2 separate regions of the Homo sapiens genome follow, and region 1 is linked to region 2. The links are contacts of gene promoters, found by promoter capture Hi-C in human tissues and cell types (Jung and others, 2019). All regions are on one chromosome and are shown on one strand. The core of a region is centred on a gene start or on the middle of the fragment in contact, and the rest is flanking DNA. Distances in the headings are between cores, read along the strand shown.

Evidence for each region. Contacts are between HindIII fragments. The study calls those that stand out against the background at their distance.
Region 1: a fragment that was not itself captured here is called in contact with the fragment with the promoter of SF3A3 in region 2 in 1 of the 25 tissues and cell types used here (lymphoblastoid cells).

The regions. Positions count from the first base shown.
Region 1 is chr1:38,734,363-38,740,180 of GRCh38, reverse strand. No RefSeq gene overlaps it. Among named protein-coding and RNA genes, the nearest start is that of RRAGC, 120 kb to the left of the region's middle. The HindIII fragment of the contact is 4,885 bases long and covers 1,507-5,818 here.
Region 2 is chr1:37,987,351-37,993,771 of GRCh38, reverse strand. SF3A3 (splicing factor 3a subunit 3) reads left to right here and starts at 3,750. Exons shown (of 17, transcript NM_006802.4): 1 at 3,750-3,902; 2 at 4,177-4,224; 3 at 5,936-5,988; 4 at 6,094-6,199. The coding sequence starts at 3,807. It also overlaps the pseudogene RNU6-510P. RefSeq lists enhancers at 2,592-3,137, 3,529-3,698, 4,399-4,498. The HindIII fragment of the contact is 23,460 bases long and covers 1-6,421 here.

The DNA.
Region 1 (5,818 bases), core at 2,700-5,199, 750 kb before region 2:
GGCAAGAGATGTTTTAATGTGGCCATATCAGTGTGATATGGATTAGAAAACCATCATTTAAAGATGTCATTTATCTTCGTTTTTCCTGAAGACAAAATAAATATTTGCTTATTGAAAAAAATTCAAACCTTACAAAAATTATACATTTTGTAGAATGTCCTTTATTATCCTATTACTCCTAGAGATGACAATACTGTAGGTTATAGCCTAGATTTTTTTCTACACAGATATACATATGAGTAAGAATATATAATTATATACAGTTATTTTGTTATAAAATAATGCGAACCACAGACATCTAGGATCCACACTTTATTTCTGACCACTCAGTTTCACTAAACTCAAGGGATGACCACTCAGTTTCACTAAACTCACTAAACTCAAGGGAACTGGGCAGGATGTTCTCCCACTTATAAATGGGAGCTGAAGGATGAGAACACATGGACACATGTGGGGGAACAACACATGCTAGGGCCTGTCAGGGGGGAGGGGGACGGAGAGCATCAGGAAGAATAGCTAATGGATGTTGGGCTTAATACCTAGGTGATGGGTTGATCTGTGTGGCAAATCACAATGGCACATGTTTACCCATATAGCAAACCTGCACATATACTTCACAACTTAAAATAAAAGTTGATGAAAAAAAAAAAAGAATTGGGCAGGGATGCCCACCACCCACTGTGCTGATAATAAAAATGATGACATATTAATGGCTTGGGTTTTAGTCCATGTCAAAATATCCTTTTGTCCAGAGGCCAAGTCAGGAATGTCCCCCTCACCCCGTCTTGCCTCCTACGGGCTCCCTCTGTCTCCTGTGGGCACCAACCTTACTACATGCTTTTTTCTCCATATAGCCTCATGTGACTTTCCATCTCAAGGCCCATCTGTCTCAAATGTCACCTCTTCCAGAGCGGTCCCCTGGATCTCCCCACCCTAGACTCTTCCCATTCGGCTTCCAAAGCTCAGAAAAAGACAAAGCAGAAAGAGGCAAGGTGCCTCTGAGATTTAGCAAAATTGTGAAATTTCACCAGGTCCAACTTTTTTCTTTGAAATTTAGTCCTCCAGACGATGCAACATACACCTTTGTTTCCATGAACTTCAAAGTTGCCCTTTCAGACAGTCTCCTAATATGCAAGGTTAAGATAAATGATATTCGGTCTTGGCTGCAAGGACTAGATTTTTCACCTCTAAGTTTTAGTCCACGCATTGAGGTGTTAATTTAATACATTGAATGGCAGAACAGATGAGCTCACCGCTCAGAGTCTTTTCTCTGGGGGCGAAAAGTATTAACAGCAACAAAAATAAGACAAATGATGCGCAGATCAGTAAGTTTATGAAGTACAGTATCCAACGATTGTGATAGCTGATCCTCTTCCAATAACTCATTGCTTAAATGAGAGACATTTGTTGTCAAGAATTCACAGGATTAGACCATGAACAGTTCTTCTGAGAGGCAGAAAGGGCTCATGTCTACCTCTTTTCCCCGACATTGGTTTGGGCAGTCAGTTACTCTCACTGAGCCTCAACTTCCTCATGGGTAAGACGGGGAATAACTGCTGCTCTGCTACCATCCTAGGGTTCTTGTGAAAGTTGAATGAAGTAATAGAGGCCAAACAGGTGCACAGCAGATATTTGTCTCCCGGGATTGCCTAGTATCCAAATACTCTTTTTATGTGGGGAGTAGGTAGGAGTGAAAGCTCTGCCTCTCATACAGAAATGGAATGGGGTCAGGTACTCGTATGCATGGACATGTGGTGATGCTCAGCCAATCAGCTGCTCTTACCCTGTGCAGTGGCTCTTGGCTGAGTGACACGCAGAGTAGGGGGCGTATTAGAATTCCTCCCAGTGGCTGTGGAGCCAGCAGCTGGAGGTGGTATCCTACCCAGACCCCTCCTGACTTCCCGAGTTTCTACCTGCTTTGGAGCTGGGTTCTCCCCTCGGTGCTGTGAGCTGAAGGATCATCTTGCCTTTGCTGCTTATGCCAGCTACAATTAGCTTCAGCTGTTTGCAATGAGGCGCTCTGGTCCACAGATTCCTTTGTAGGCTGTGCACCTGTGAGGGGGTATTTCTGTGTGTGGGATGTGACACAGTGTTTCCTTCCCTGGAGAGCTTCAGATACAAATACCTGGGCCCTAATACCGTCCTGAGATTCTGAAGCTGCCAATCATGGGGAATTTTGGCCTGTGTGGTTCTTCAAGCTGGAAGGCACTCAGAAGTCATAGTCTTGGTTCTGCCTTGTAATCTGTGCAGGGCACAAAAGCAATGTCTTCTTTTAGGAAATGTACACAGAGGTGTGCATCATCCCTCTCAATTGCGCATCCCAGAGTTCCTCCGAGCTGGTTAACTTGATACATAGAAACCACTCTATGCACAGGGGATATTCCTTACAGCACTGTGTATAATGTAACAATATGGAGACAGGTCTGATTGCCCAAAATGAGGCTAATGGTTAAGTAAGCCACAGCTCAGCTACTTGAAGGAATATTATGCAACTGCTAAAAGTGTGTTTGGGCAGAGGTTTTTAGTAACATGAGAAAATATTTATAAGTTAAACATGCATAACCAAAAAGATATAAGAAAACCTACCAAGATAGGTTTTGGTACAGGTTTTTTTGCAGTGTAGTTTTTTTTTTTTTTTTTTTTTTGAGACGGAGTCTTGCGCTCTGTCACCCAGGCTGGAGTGCAGTGGTGCAATCTCGGCTCACTGCAAGCTCTGCCTCCCAGGTTCACGCCATTTTCCCACCTCAGCGTCCCGAGTAGCTGGGACTACAGGTGCCTGCCACCACGCCCGGCTATTTTTTTGTTTTTGTATTTTTAGTAGAGACGGGGTTTCACCGTGTTAGCCAGGATGGTCTCGATCTCCAGACCTCGTGATCCGCCCACCTCGGCCTCCCAAAGTGCTGGGATTACAGGCATGAGCCACTGCGCCCGGCCTGCAGTGTAGTTTTGTTTTTTACAAAATTCAGCATTCACCTTTTTTCCTTCTTCTTCGTAATGCGTGATTCAGTAAAACTGGTTTGTGTGTACAGAAAATTTCCATCGAGGTAATTATGGGGAAATGTTGACTGATAGGACAGCGACAATTTTAAGGCCAACCAAAATACTTGAAATCATCGTGGGCTAATTACGCCCCCATGGTTTTTTTGCCTCCCGTTGGGTAGCTGCCACTGGTGAATGTGCAGGTGAAATTGTTGTTTGCTGTGAGAGTTGAAAGGCCAGGCTTGCCCTGTGTGGGAGACCATCAGGCTATACAACACACTCCGGTTACTTTATGATTTCTGTATAGAACCTTTTCTTGAAATGAAACAAATGTTTGAATCAAACTCTGTTTTCAAGATAATAATAGAGGCCCCTAGGTAAAACGTAATATCTCTATTTATTAAAAATTATGTATTTCCAGTCAGCTCTTTTTTTAAAAAAATCATAAATAGGTAGAAAACATTTGCTTATTAGTTTGTTCATGCGCTTGTTCATTCATTCACCATGTTACTGAGAACAGAGCTAGGAACACCCTTAATTCACTTGCATCATTTCCTAAGGTCAGAAGCTTCTGGTATTTGTTCAGGCTCAGTCTCAGCTCTTTGAAGCTTTTGGACTCTGGTCTTTGCCAAGGGGTTCCAGTGTTTTTGGTCCATTGAAGGGGATTTATCCTCTCTTCTGCTAGTGCTTGCCTATGAGGGGCAGCTCAGTTAGGTTAGGTTATCTTCACAGAAGCCCTGGCAGAGGATCCCTGCCACACCTACAATGGGGAAGGTCTACCAGTCTCTCCTCTCACTTTGGGTCTACATATTAGGTTCTTTCTAAAGAATAGGAGACCCCTTCTATTTCCATTTCAGTCTGCTCCAGTCTAGCTCATTAAACAGGGATGTATGGCTGACATTTTACCCTGAGTCCAGGCCTGTGTTGGGGGTTGAGGGGACTGTAAAAGAAGTTTAGCACCTCTAAGCATTTTATGGAGGCAAGATAAACATACAAGCAGCAAACTTCTATGAAACCCTCAAAGGACACTGTGTGGCCCCCCATCCTGGCAGCTGTCCCCACTTTGGTTGGTGGTAGTGATTCAATCATTCATTAGTTTATTTTCTCAACAAACTTGCTGTGTGTTGGGTGGGCACTGCATAACAGCCGTGGTATCACAGGAATGAGGAAGACTGAGTCAGAAGCTCACAGTCTTGCATGGGCGATAAGACGTACATAAATAACTAGGTCATCAAATGACAAAATTGTATTCCCTGAATTTCTGCTGATCCTACTTCCTTACTAACTTTTAAAATCTTTTCCTCCCCATCCTCACTACCATTGCTTTTTTCTCTTGGATGATTACATAAGCTTTCGAGCTCATCTTCCTGCCTCCAGTCCAGCTCCCACATTCCCATCAGATGGATTAGTCTACAATCTAGACACGTCATTCCTAGCTCTGAGCCCTCCAGTCTCTATGCAAGATGAGGTGACCTCCACCTCTACTTCCTGGCCAGCTCTCTTGCCGCAAGCTGCCTCACCATTTCTGTGGTATTTGCACTATGTGCCTTTGGGCCCTCTGTCATTCCCTCTGCCAGGGATGCTCTCCCAGCTTGTTCTCCTAAAAGACTCTGTTTGTCCTTTGAGACTCAACTCATGTACCAAATCATCTGGCAAAACTTCCTTGGACTCCTCCACTCCATTCATTTTATTCACTCTTTGATGAGTATTCAGTATGTGTCAGGCATGGTGCCAGGAAGATGAAGGGAAGTGATATGGTTTGAATCTATGTCCCTGCCCAAAACTCATATTGAACTGTAATCCCCAGTATTGGAGTTGGGGCCTGGTGGGAGGTGATTGGATCATGGGGGTAGTTTTTCATGAATGGTTTGGCACCATTCCCCTTGGTACTGTCCTTGTGATAGTAAGTTCTTGTGAGATCTGGTCATTTAAAAATGTGTAGCACCTCCCTGCTCTCTTTCTTATTCCTTCTTTCACCATGTAATGTGCCTACGTGCCTCCTCTCCCTTCACCTTATGCAATGATCATAAGTTTCCTGAGGCCTCCCCAGAAGCCGAGAAGATGCCAGCATCATGCTTCCTGTACAGCCTGCAGAACTATGAGCCAATTAAACCTCTTTTCTTTATAAATTACCCAGTCCCAGATATTTCTTTATAGCAATGCAAAAATGGACTAGGACAGGAAGTAAAACCAATATGGTACCTGACCTTGTTTGTAGAGCTTCAAACTGAGTGATGGAGAGAGATGCTCATTAAACAAGTTTAAAATAAATGTAGGATTACAAACTGTCATAAGCAGGATGAAGAAGAATACAGGGTGCTCTCAGAGAGTATAGCTGTGGCTCCTCTCCCAGAGCATTGTGAAGCAGCTGCAGGTTATTCGTTTCTACTGGGTACTGGCCTCTTGCCCTATGGAGAAGGTCTGACCAAAGGTACAATGGGAATCATTTGGCTTGACCCCGGCTCTGTGTGTTAGGCTAGTTCAGTTGGCTCTGGTTGTGATAATGTAGTCCTTTATTAGATACTTTCTGGAAGATTCTGCCTACCTCATGGTAATCTTCCTGAATTTCCCTCCTCATCCTTGTGCACCAACCCTTATAGTCATGTCTGCATTGTGTTACAGTCCACTTGGTCATGGTTGAAGGTATAGTATGGTATACCTGATCCAAATTTGACAATTCAGTTTCTTTCTCCTCAAAATTTGAGACTCAAAAATTCTAGGACTGGCTGGGATGGTCTGTAGAAAAGAATAGATGGGGACTTGGGAGTAGGGGGTGGCCATTTCTTTCTGTTGTGAACTGAGAAGCAAATGGATGAAAGGAACAGAAAAGAGACCTGCA
Region 2 (6,421 bases), core at 2,501-5,000:
GGGAGTACGGGCAAATGCCAGCAAGCCCAGCTAATTTTCTTATTTTTTGTAGAGATGAGGTCTCGCTATGTTGCCCAGACTGTTCTAGAACTCCTGGCTTTAAGCGAAATTCCCAGCTTGGCCTCCCAAAGTGCTGGGATTACAGGCGTGAGCCACTGCACCCAGCCTGCTTTCAAACTTTTAAAAACAAAAAGTAATGCATGTTTACTGTAGAAAAATTGGGCTGGGTGCGGTGGCTCACGCCTATAATCCCAGCACTTTGGGAGGCCAAGGCAGGAGGATTGCTTGAGCTCAGGAGTTGCAGACAAGCCTGGGCACCACTGTGAGACCTCATCTCTAGTAAAAATTTTTAAAAAATTACAGCGGGTCTGGTGGCTCATGCCTATAATCCCAGCATTTTGGGAGGCCAAGGCAGGAAGATCGCTTGAGTCCAGGAGTTTGAGACCAGCCTGGGCAACACGGCAAAAAACCCCATCTCTACAAAAAATACAAAAATTAGCAGGGTGTAGTGGCGCACATCTATAGTCCCAGCTACTCAGGAGGCTGAAGTGGGAGGATAGCTTTAGCCCAGGAGGTCGAGGCTGCAGTGAGCCAAGATTGTGCCACTGTACTCCAGCTTGGCAAGACCCTGTCTCAAAAAAAAAAGAAAAACCTTGGCTTGGTGTGGTAGCTCATGCCTGTAATTCCAGCATTTTGGGAGGCCAAGGTGGGCGGATCACCCTGAGGGCAGGAGTTCAAGACCAGCCTGGCCAACATAGCAAAACCCCATCTCTGCTAAAAATACAAAAATTAGCTGGGCATGGTGCCACGCACCTGTAATCCCAGCTACTAGGGAGACTGAGGCAGAATTGCTTGAACCCAGGAGGTAGAGGTTGCAGTGAGCCAAGATCGTGCCACTGCACTCCAGCTTGGATGACACAGAAAGACCCTGTCTCAAAAAAAAACAAAAAACAAAAAACCTCGCAGTTTTTTGGTGTGCGGTGGCTCACACCTGTAATCCCAGCATTTTGGGAGGCCAAGGCAGGCAGATCACCCGGAGGTCAGGAGTTCAGGACCAGCCTGGCCAACATAGTGAAAGCCCGTCTCTACTAAAAATACAAAAACTAGCCAGGTGTGGTGGCAGTCACCTGTAATCCCAGCTACTCAGGAGGCTGAGGCAGGAGAATCGCTTGAACACAGGAGGTAGAGGTTGCCGTGAGCTGAGATCGCGCCACTGCACTCCAGCCTGGCGACAGAGCGAGACTCCCAAAACAAAACTTTAAATGTGGCTTTTGTTGCGTGGGAAAAAAATAAAAAATTAACCAGGGTGGTGGCACCCACCTGTGGGGGCCACAGGGGTGGAGGCTGCAGTGAGCCATGATTATGCCACTGCACTCCAGCCTGGGGCAACAGAGAGAGACCCTATCAAAAAAAAAAAGAAAAAGAAAAAAAAGAAAAAAGTGAACAATAGGTAAATTACTAATAATGTGATGCATTATGTCCTCCTCGTTCTTTTTTGTTAAACATAAATGTGCACATATGTATTTTCAGTTTTAAATTAATTTTTAAATTGAAAAAGTATGTTTAAGAATAACTTTTTATGCTGTGCTTGGGGTGTATACAAAGAAAAATCTCCCATATCAGATCTCCAAGGCTGTCTGCTCAGGAACAACCACTGTTTACTGTTACTTGGATATCCTTACAGAAATAATCTCTTTGCACATCTATTTTTATACACACTTGTGCATCTAGCTTTTTTCAGTTTGTGTGGCCATCTCTCCATATGAGTTCATACAGAGTTTTTAACAGTTTTATTGAAGTGTAATTTATATACCATAAAATTCACCCATTTTTAACAGTACAAAGCAATTAATTTTAATAAAATGAATAGAGTTATGCAACTATCACCACAATCCAATTTTAGAACATTTCTACCCATCCAAAATGGATTCCTTGTGCGCATTTGTAATCACTTCCAATCTCACCTGCGGTCACAAGCAACCACTCATATTTCTGCCTCCATAGATTTGCCTTTGTTAACTCAATTGTAGCCTAAAGCTGCCTCCTTACATATTTTAAATTTAGCCTAAAGGTTTCTCTGTACATTGTGAACTATAACCTAAATGGAGTTGTAAACAGACCATAGCCTACTCTTTGCCAATCACCGAGTTTTGGCCAATCAAACATGGCAAACTATGCAAACCGTGTTCAAATAAGGCAAAGACCAAGCTGTAATAACCGGTGTTTTTTTTTTTTTTTCTTTTTGCAGGGGCCATGCTAATCTTCTCTGTATGGTTCCAATTTTAGTATATGTGCTGCCATAGCAAGCACCAGTGTTTTTCTTTTAACACCGTTCTGGACGTTTTATCTGGACATACACTGTTGTTTTTCTGTCTAGCTTCTTTCACTTAGCATGATGCTTTCATGGTTCATCATTGTAGTATTCATTTATTGCAGAATAATGTTCCATTGTACTGTATAGATATACCACACTTTATCCATTTGCCAGTTAATGGACTCTTGGGCTGCATCCAGTTTTTGTCTATTATGAATAATGCCGCTGTGAACATATGAACACATGGACATGTTTGCATTTCTCTACCTACAAGTGGAGATATATAGACAGAATTTTTTTTAAGGCTGTATGTCATTTCACAGCTGGTCTTCCACTGCTTGGATGCACAGTATTTTATTTTATTTTATTTTACTTTTTTTTGAGACGGAGTCTCTCTCTGTCGCCCAAGCTGGAATGCAGTGGCATGATCTCAGCTCACTGCAACCTCTGCCTCCTGGGTTCAAGTGATTCTCCTGCCTCAGCCTCCCGAGTAGCTGTGACTACAGGCGCGCGCCACCATGCCCGGCTAATTTTTTGCAGTTTTAGTAGAGACGGGGTTTCACCGTGTTAGACAGGATGGTCTCAATCTCCTGATCTCGTTGGATGCACAGTATTTTATTTAACATATTCGCTGCCGATAGACAAGTCGTTTCTACACGTGAATTTCTTTTTTTTTTTTTTTTTTGAGACTGAGTCTCATTCTGTCGCCCAGGCTGGAGTGCAGTGGCACGATCTCAGCTGACGGCAACCTCTGCTTCCCGGGTTCAAGCGATTCTCCTGCCTCAGCCTCCGGAGTAGCTGGGACTACAGGCGCCTGCCATCACGCCCGGCTAATTTTTGTTTGTTTGTTTTTAGTAGAGACGGGGTTTCACCATGTTAGCCAGCCTGGTCGTCTCGAACCTCTGACCTCAAGTGATCCGCCCGCCTCGGCCTCCCAAAGTGTTGGGATTACAGGCGTGAGCTACCGCGCCCGGCCTCACATGTGAATTTTTTTAAAAACACCACCAGCAAAACCCCACTATTCCCATTTTCCTGAGAAAGACGCTGAGGTCCAGAGAAAGAGAAAACGTTCTCATAATTTATGCTGAAAGCTGCGTCCTCAAGTTCCGGTTTCCCAACTCCCATCCGCACTCCAACTGCTCGCGCAGTCCACACAGGATACCTGCCCGCCAAGCCGGCCCCAGCAAGCCGCAGGAAGCCGTCCGCTGAACCTCAGGTTCTTGGGTTTTCCTATGCCCCCTGGAGGCATCTGCGAACCTCTCGGCATCGCTCCACCACACCTCCCACCAGCAGGTGGCACTGTTGCCATCTCCATAACATGGACTGGCCTTCCTTGTGGTGCTCCTGTTTTCTTAAGTCCCGGGGCACTTCCGGCACTCGCGGAACTTTGGTGCAGCCTGATGCGCAACGTGGGGACTCAGGCGCGCTGGGCGGCAGGAGTTGCTTCCGGCCGTGTTGGTGGTCTGAATTGAGAAGCCGCGACTAAGGGAAGATGGAGACAATACTGGAGCAGCAGCGGCGCTATCATGAGGAGAAGGAACGGCTCATGGACGTCATGGCTAAAGAGATGCTCACCAAGAAGTCCACGGTGAGTGGGGCCTGAGCAGAGGCTGCGGCAGGAGCACGAGCCTCTATCCCGTGTTTGACCTCTGAGAGCTTGCTTTGGCCCTCAGAACCTCCCTGCCTTCCTCCGGGCTCCCTCTCCGAGCTCCGGTCTTGGTAACCTCCTCCCGGGGTCCGGAGCCCCAGAGGCCTTTCTGCCTCAGCTGGTAAAAGCTGAGCGGGTAAGCTCCGCCCTCGGGCGGCCTTTTCTACTCCAGAACGCAAACTAACGGCGTTTGTGTCACCGTTTGTTTTTTCAGCTCCGGGACCAGATCAATTCTGATCACCGCACTCGGGCCATGCAAGATGTGAGTGCCCAGCTGTCTGCCTCTCTTTGGGTTGGCGAGGGCGGGAAAAGAGAGGGGAAGTGAAGTGCGGTGTCTCAGCATGAGTCCCTGGCCAAAGGTAACCGGATTGGCCAGTCGCGGGCTCTCTGCCTGGACAGATGTCCACAGGCTGCCGAACGTGAGGGTGCTTCCTCAGTTCTCTGAATGGGGAACTCTTGGGCATTCTTCATTAATCAGAAAGGTGCCCTTTTTTTTTTTCTTCTTCTTCTTCTTTTGGACGGAGTCTCGCTCTGTTGCCTAGGCTGGAGTGCAGTGGCGCGGTCTCGGCTCACTGCAACCTCCGCCTCCTGGGTTCAAGCGATTCTCCTGCCTCAGCCTCCGGAGTAGTTGGGACTACAGGCGCTCGCCACCACGCTCAGCTAATTTTTGTATTTTTAGTAGAGACGGAGTTTCTACTAAACATGTTGGTCAGGCTGGTCTCGAACTCCTGACCTCGTGATCCACCTACCTCGGCCTCCCAAAGTGCTGAGATTACAGGCTTGAGCCACCGCGGCCGGCTTACACGTGCCCATTCTTACAGCATCCTGTATCCCTTGGATGTGCAAACAATAGTTATGAAGAGTCCATGACTCAGGTGCATAGCTACAATCCTTCCCTTAAATGAAAAAAAAAATATATATATATATATACACACACACACACACACACACAACACACCCCGTATGTTAGTGTTTTTCTCCCAGGATACTACTTTAAAGCGTTTTGGACTACTAAACTGCATTTGTCTGGTAATAGTTCAGTTTATTAAAAGAAAAACAAGATGCTATTTAAACTGGGTGATGAATAAATGGAGGTTCATTTTACTACGTTCCTTACTCTTGTGTATGTTTGAAACCTGTTTAAAAAGGAATAAAAGACCTACTTGGACCTTCTGATTTGCAGGAGATTATCAGATTACAAGCCCTCAGCCCCAAAATACTCTGAAAACCAAGGATTTTCTTTTTTTCCCCTTGGGTGATTATTTGGTGTCAAAATCTGACCTGATCTCACTTGACAGTAAAACCTGGCCCGAACCTGTGATAGGCTTTTTATGGTCTTTAATTTATCCCACTTGGTAAATAAGGTATGAGGTTTACTGCAGAACTGTGTGCTCCAGATTCCACTAGGGATGTTACATAATATATGATACCTCTTTTGAACTTAAACATTCCAAATTCTGAAACAAATCTGGTCCCAAAAGTTTTGGAGGAGGGACTATGTACCTGTACCATCCTGAATTAGTATACTTTGACTACAAAGGAAGCCTATGTAATGTTTATTTAGCCTGCCTACTCCTCAGTCAAGCGTTTTGAAATAGTGAATATCATCTTTATCTTTGAGGATGTTAGGTGGGAACTAGTGTTTGGCCAAAGAGGGTGAGTCTGTTACAGGGGAAGTTAGGCATCGGTGGTATGTAAAGATAGGAGCCACCCCTTAAATGTATCATTTAGGTAATCTTCCAATCGACCTGCTTAAAAAACTAAACAGGAATCAAGGCTGTTAAAGGGCTATTAAAAAACTAACCAGGAATCAGGGCTGTTAAAGGTACTAGGAAGCACAGAACTGTTAAGACTATCTCATATCCATGTCTCTTGAGGTTGCCCTGGGCTTTGACTGGAGAACCCTTGTTGTTTGCTTAGCTCTACAGTTGTGCAAATTGCATCATTCTGATGGTTTTGTATTTGCCTTTCAGAGGTATATGGAGGTCAGTGGGAACCTGAGGGATTTGTATGATGATAAGGATGGGTAAGTGACAGTCACAGCTAATCCAGGAGTTAGTGCTTCTGAGGAGCCATGGTTAGAGGACTGACTTTGTGCTCTATCTTCTTTGAAATTTTCCTGAAATTGCAGATTACGAAAGGAGGAGCTCAATGCCATTTCAGGACCCAATGAGTTTGCTGAATTCTATAATAGACTCAAGCAAATAAAGGAATTCCACCGGAAGCACCCAAATGAGGTATGTCCTCAGAAAAGTATTTTCTCCAGACCTATCCTTAAAGCATACTAAAGGAAAGGTATAAAGGAAACTGGACATGTGCTATTCAAATGCACTTCAAGAAAGAACTTGCCATTTAGCTGCAAGGACCATAGTTAGCTGACATCCTACAATACAGTGTTTTCAGTATCTCCCTCAGCTTTTAAGCCAAGGCCGGCTGGGCACGGTGGCTCACGCCTGTAA